Regions from separate parts of the Homo sapiens genome. Here region 2 is linked to region 1. Evidence: promoter capture Hi-C in 16 types of primary human blood cells and fetal thymus (Javierre and others, 2016). All regions are on one chromosome and are shown on one strand. The core of a region is centred on a gene start or on the middle of the fragment in contact, and the rest is flanking DNA. Distances in the headings are between cores, read along the strand shown. Region 1 holds the start of SEPTIN12 (septin 12). Region 2 overlaps GLYR1 (glyoxylate reductase 1 homolog).

Region 1 (3,024 bases), core at 348-2,847:
CCCTGTCCCAAAAAAGAAAAAAAAAAAAGAAAGAAAAGAAAGGAGAAAAGAAAGAAAAAAGAAAGAGAAAACATTTGCCAATAGCAAGGACACAGGAATGCCTAAGCCTTGTGAAGTCAAGTACCAGGAAACAAGAAAGAATTAACTGTGTGAGATGGACTTGGTATAAGAAACAGCTTATCAGGCTGGGCATGGTGGTTCACGTCTGTAATCTCAGCATTTAGGGAGGCTGAGGTGAGAGGATCACTAGAACCCAGGAGTTTGAGACCAGCATGGGCAACATAGTGAGACCGTGTCTCAAAAAAATTTTAAAAAGGGCTGGGCGCAGGGGCTAACGCCTGTAATCCCAGCACTTTGGGAGGCCGAGGAGGGCAGATCACGAGATCAGGAGATCGAGACCATCCTGGCTAACACAGGGAAAACCAGTCTCTACTAAAAATAGGAAAAAATTAGCCGGGCGTGGTGGCAGGCGCCTGTAGTCCCAGCTACTCGGGAGGCTGAGGCAGGAGAGCGGCGTGAACCCGGGAGGCAGAGCTTACAGTGAGCCGAGATCATGCCACTAAACTCCAGCCTGGGTGACAGAGCGAGACTCCGTCTCAAAAAAAAAAAGAAAAAAAGGAAAAAAGAAAAAAAAAGGCCAGGCATGGTGGCTCACTAATCCCAACACTTTGGGAGACCAGGGTTGGTGGATCACTTGAGGTCAGAAGCTTGTGACTAGCCTGACCAATGTGGTGAAACCCCTTCTCTACTAAAAATACAAAATTAGCGTGGTGGTGCACACCGGTAATCCAGCTACTTGGGAGGCTGAGGCAAGAGAATTGCTTGAACCCAGGAGGCGGAGGTTGCAGTGAGCCGAGATCGCGCCACTGCATTCCAGCAAGGGCAACAGAGCGAGGCTGTCTCAAAAACAAACAACAAAAAAAGAAACAGCTTATCAGAGAGACAGTAAGGCAGGGGTGAGGACCACAGTCTGGAAAGCACATGGCCTATTTAAAGAGGGCATCTCAAGTCAGGGTGATAACCTCTAAGATACACCGGAAATCTAGATGTTTCTGTAAACCAGAAAAAGGCAGTAGAGGGTGAGCACACAGACTCAGAGCGGCAGAGACTCTGCCACCTCCTCACCTGACCCTCTCTTATCTATCAGCTTGGGGTAGTAACAGCACTTACTTCACAGGGCTTGATTATTAAACAAGTTAACATCTTTGGGCTCCTAGAACGATGCCATGTGCAGAGTCAGGACTGGGTAAATATTTGCTAAAGCAATCTCTTCATGTTTTTGACGCTGCAACTTAAAACACATGGCGCCAATCGTGGACACGGATATCCCGCTAGCCAGCTGTGGGGCCTGGGTTTGCTCACCCCAGCAGAGTGGTTGAGGGCGTCAGCTTGGAGGTGGGAGCCCAGCTGACGAGGGGGCCTTGGGCCCCTGGTTCTACTTGGGGATTATTGTATTATTAGGCTGGGGTCATTGTGGGGATTAGAAGGGTAACAGCTCCTGCTCCTGCTGCAGAGAAGCCTCCAGGTGGGGGTCACAGCAAGTGCAGATGGAGCTCAGATTCTTCGGTTAACTGTCACCCTCTCCCCTCCCCCATCACACACACCAGGCCCTGCCAGGACAAGGCAGCTCCTGGAAGCTCCACCAGGACCCACGTCCACCAGGTGTCACAGCAGGCTGCTTCTCTCTCTCTCTGCCCCCCGTGGGCTCTTCGCACCGCTCCCTCCCAGCCATCTTCCCTGCCTGACCTTGGTCTCTCTCTCTCTGTCTCCGTCACCTTCATGCCTGTGCCGTCTTTCTCGCTCTCTATCAACTCTGCTGTGTGTCCCCCTGGGGAAAGTGGGGGCACCTCCTCCTGAGCCCCCTGCCCAAGTTTCCTGCTGGGACGGGAGCCACTTCACCCCATACACACTCCCTGAAGCCCCTCCAGGACTCCAGCCTGGCTGCAAACACCCATCCTGGACTTTGCCTGGCCCTCCAGGCTCTGCTGGGGGAAGCGACCTGAGAGGCCCCTGCCTGGGCTGTAGGTGGGGACAGGGCAGACCCTTGGGCAGCGGAGCCTCTCTGGATGGGTGTTGAGGCACCCTGCAGAAACAGCTCCCCACAGGCACCCTTGCCACACCCCTGGGACTACAGGCACTTAGGGTACACCAGAGGCATGAAGTGTGGAGGGGGTTGGCCAACGGCCAAGCTCAAATAGGGGTTCAGATAGGAGAGGTCAATGTGGGCTCCTCTGAGCCCCAGTGACCCCCTTCTCCCCACCCACCTGGTGACAGGCATCTCGAACCCTTGGCCCCCATGGACCCCCTGAGGCGCTCCCCCTCTCCCTGCCTGTCCTCGCAGCCCTCCAGCCCCAGCACCCCACCCTGCGAGATGCTTGGTCCTGTGGGCATTGAGGCTGTGCTGGACCAGCTGAAGATCAAGGCTATGAAGATGGGGTTTGAGTTCAACATCATGGTGGTGGGTGAGTGAGAGGTAGGGCCCACGGCAGGACAGACCCACAGTGCTACGCGTGCCTGGGCGTGTGGCCTCACCTTTGGCAGCCTGTCGCCCCTCCCCATCTCTTAGGTGGGCCTGATAATAGCACCTCACAGGGATGTTGTCATTGAAAATTTGAGAAATGCTGAGTCATTAAAAGACAAAAATGTGCCTGGAGCGGTGGCTCACACCTATAATCCAGGGTTTTGGGAGACTGAGGTGGGTGGATCACTTGAGCTCAGGAGTTTGAGACTAGCAAAACCTAATGTCTACAAAAAGTACAAAAATGAGGCCGGGCATGGTGGCTCAAGCCTGTAATTCCAGCACTTTGAAAGGCCAAGGCAGGAGGGTCACTTGAGGTCAGGAGTTCGAAAACAGCCTGGCCAACATGGGGAAACTCCGTCTCTACTAAAAATACAAAAATTTGCCAGGCGTGGTGGTGGGCGCCTGTACTTAGGAGCTACTTAGGAGGCTAAGGCAGGAGAATTGCTTGAACCTGGGAGGCAGATGTTGTAGTGAGCCGAGATTGCGCCACTGTACTCCAGCCT
Region 2 (2,781 bases), core at 183-2,682, 46 kb before region 1:
CCTTTAGAGAAAAAATTGTATTCAGATAGCCAAAGTGATTTAAGTTTGGTTTGCTTTCAAGAGGTAATCCCCATAGAGCTCTGGTAAGCTGGGTTTTTTTGTTGTTACTGTTTTTGAGGTGGAGTCTCACTCTGTTGCCCAGGCTGGAGTGCAGTGGCACAATACTGGCTCACTGCAACCTCCGCCTCCTGGGTTCAAGTGTTTCTCCTGTCTCAGCCTTCCGAGTAGCTGGGATTACAGCTGCGTGCCACTACACCCAGCTAATTTTTATATTTTCAGTAGAGACGAGATTTCACCATGTTGGCCAGGCTGGTCTCAAACTCCTAACCTCAGGTGATCTGCCTGCCTCGGCCTCCCAAAGTGCTAGGATTACAGGTGTGAGCCACCGTGCCCAGCCAAGCTGGTTTTTTATGGCTGTTTTTTGATGTAACAGGATGCTTCTCCAGCAATAAGTTGATTCCTTAAATAGATTAACATTTCTTGGATTTACCATCCTATTCATACTGTCAGTTCATTTAGCCATTTTAATGTTTCGAAGATGGTTGTAAAGAGGAAAATTTTAGTATCTCAAATGCTTTAAAGTGAGTGGAATTTTGACTGTACAGTTCCTTCTAGCAGAAATCAGTAAACCTTGTAAGATGCTTCAACAAAAAATGGGGTTGATTCCTTGGCACTTCACAGACATCCTCACCTTTCTGTTCCCTCAGAATCGGGTTCCTGTGAGGCTGGGTAGTGGGAGGCAGGGATGGAGGTAGCAGGATGGCGTGGGTGGGATTAGCAAGTCTCGGAGTCTGTTGTCCCATCTCAAGGGGTTCCATAAAAATCACCTTTTTGGTCCTATATTGGGAACTTGTGTGGTTCTCAGCTTCTGACCAGAAGCTCCTAGGAAGAACTGGCTGGTCACGACTCCTTAAGCTTCATCCTTGATACTGGTTGTGTCATCTCAGACCCACGGGTTAGTATGGTAGCTTCACTGGCTTTTGGGGCTGGGTCTGACTTTGCATCTGATTGCTCTGGCCTGTCATTAGCATCCCTGTAAGGAGAGGGAACGGAGTCAGTTCAGGGATATTCTTGCCAGAAAATCTGGGGTCGAAATCTCCTTCCACTTTTCCTCCCAGCAGATTGGACTCATTGGCGCTCTCATGTTGAATTTCAAACTTTAAGATGAGTTGGTCACTGGAAAGGAGTTTGCTGGCTCACACCTGTAATCCCAGCACTTTGGGAGGCCAAGGCAGGTGGATCACTGGAGGCCAGAAGTTCAAGACCAGCCTGGCCAACACAGGGAAACCCCGTCTCTACTAGAAACATAAAAATTAGCTGGGTGTGGTGGTGCATACCTGTAGTCCCAGCAACTCGGGAGATAGAGGCAGAATTGCTTGAACCTGGGAGGTGGAGGCGGAGGTCGCAGTTAGCTAAGATCGTGCCACTGCACTTCATCCTAGGTGACAAAATGAGACTCTGTCTCAAAAAGGAAAAAAAAAAGGCCAGGTGTGGTGGCTCACGCCTGTAATCCCAGCACTTGGGAGGCTGAGGCAGGAGAATCACTTGAACCTAGGAGGCGAGGTTGCCGTGAGCCAACATCGCCCCATTGCACTCCAGCCTGGGCAACAAGAGTGAAACTCCGTCTCAAAAAAAAAAAAAAAAAAAAAAGGAATTTGCCTAACTCCTCTAGTTGGAGCTGTGCCAGGGAGACCAGCTTCTGTATCTCCATTCATCATCTCACTTAGCCATGGTGGCATGCCTGATAGTGGTTCGCTGCCTGACATCTGCAGGCCGATGATCCCAGGTCTGTGTTTTTGCACAGACCCCATTATCACAACTACCAGCAGCACACTCAAAGTCCAGGTAGCTGGTGGAGGGTTAGTAACATTATTTTTATGTGCAAAGGTTAACACTTGCTGTTAGTGAATATTCTCTAGCTTTCTATGAAGAAAACAACCTGAAGCTTGTGAGATAGCTGGGTTTCTGTATCCTTAACCTGACCTACTTTTTCTGAAGGTTATGCTGTGAAACCTGTATCACAGGCTAAAACATGTAAACTAACTGATACCTTGTAAAGCCTATAAAATTATTTTGTGCTTGGATTCTATAAGCTGCATGCCATTCAGGGAAGCCATAGAAAGCCAGCTGCAGCAGATTTGTTCAGGTTAGTGTGACAGATCAGAAACCCCAGAATTGACAGCTGACTACTTTCACTTTCATGTGTTACACATTGATGGTTGAAATTAAAAATTACATATCGGAGGTGTATGTTCTTCTACCTTTAATCTCAAGCATCTTGTTTCTATTTTTTTTTTTTTTTGAGACATCATAAAACAGCATGCCATCTTGTTTTTAAATGCCTCCTTTTGTAACTGCTGCCCTTATTCCAAACCATGTGTTCCGTGTTTTGTGTGGTTTAGTAGCCATGGTTACCATCATTTATGAACAAATATAGGCTCAGTGGCTGTGAATATCCATAGGAACCACAAATTTTAGAAGATGTTGCATTTCTTCAGCTCTGTAACATCCCTGACTCTCTGTGGATCAACAGATCATAAATCTGGTTCCCATTGTTGACAGGCAGCAGGCATTTTCCTGCATAGTAATGCTGCTATCATCTATCACATTTCCAGGTACCCTGATTCCCAGGGATCTGTGTGTGGCCATTTGTGCTGCCTGGTGAGAATGGGAAAGGGTCTCCAGATTTCTTTCTGCCCTGAGCAAGTGGCAGCGTATATGTGGTTGGGCATTGGAGGCTGATAGACGATTGTGGAAATAAATAATCTGCAACACAGTGCT

What was found. The method cuts DNA at HindIII sites, captures the fragments that hold promoters and counts their contacts. A CHiCAGO score of 5 or more calls a contact.
Region 2: a fragment that was not itself captured here is called in contact with the fragment with the promoter of SEPTIN12 in region 1 in 1 of 17 cell types (erythroblasts); the score reaches 5.4 in erythroblasts.

The regions. Positions count from the first base shown.
Region 1 is chr16:4,786,918-4,789,941 of GRCh38, reverse strand. SEPTIN12 (septin 12) reads left to right here and starts at 1,597. Exons shown (of 10, transcript NM_144605.5): 1 at 1,597-1,662; 2 at 2,275-2,462. The coding sequence starts at 2,297. It also overlaps a transcript of SMIM22 not described here. The HindIII fragment of the contact is 19,587 bases long and covers 710-3,024 here.
Region 2 is chr16:4,833,165-4,835,945 of GRCh38, reverse strand. The region is part of intron 3 of GLYR1 (glyoxylate reductase 1 homolog); the gene reads left to right. Among named protein-coding and RNA genes, the nearest start is that of GLYR1, 13 kb to the left of the region's middle. The HindIII fragment of the contact is 1,030 bases long and covers 918-1,947 here.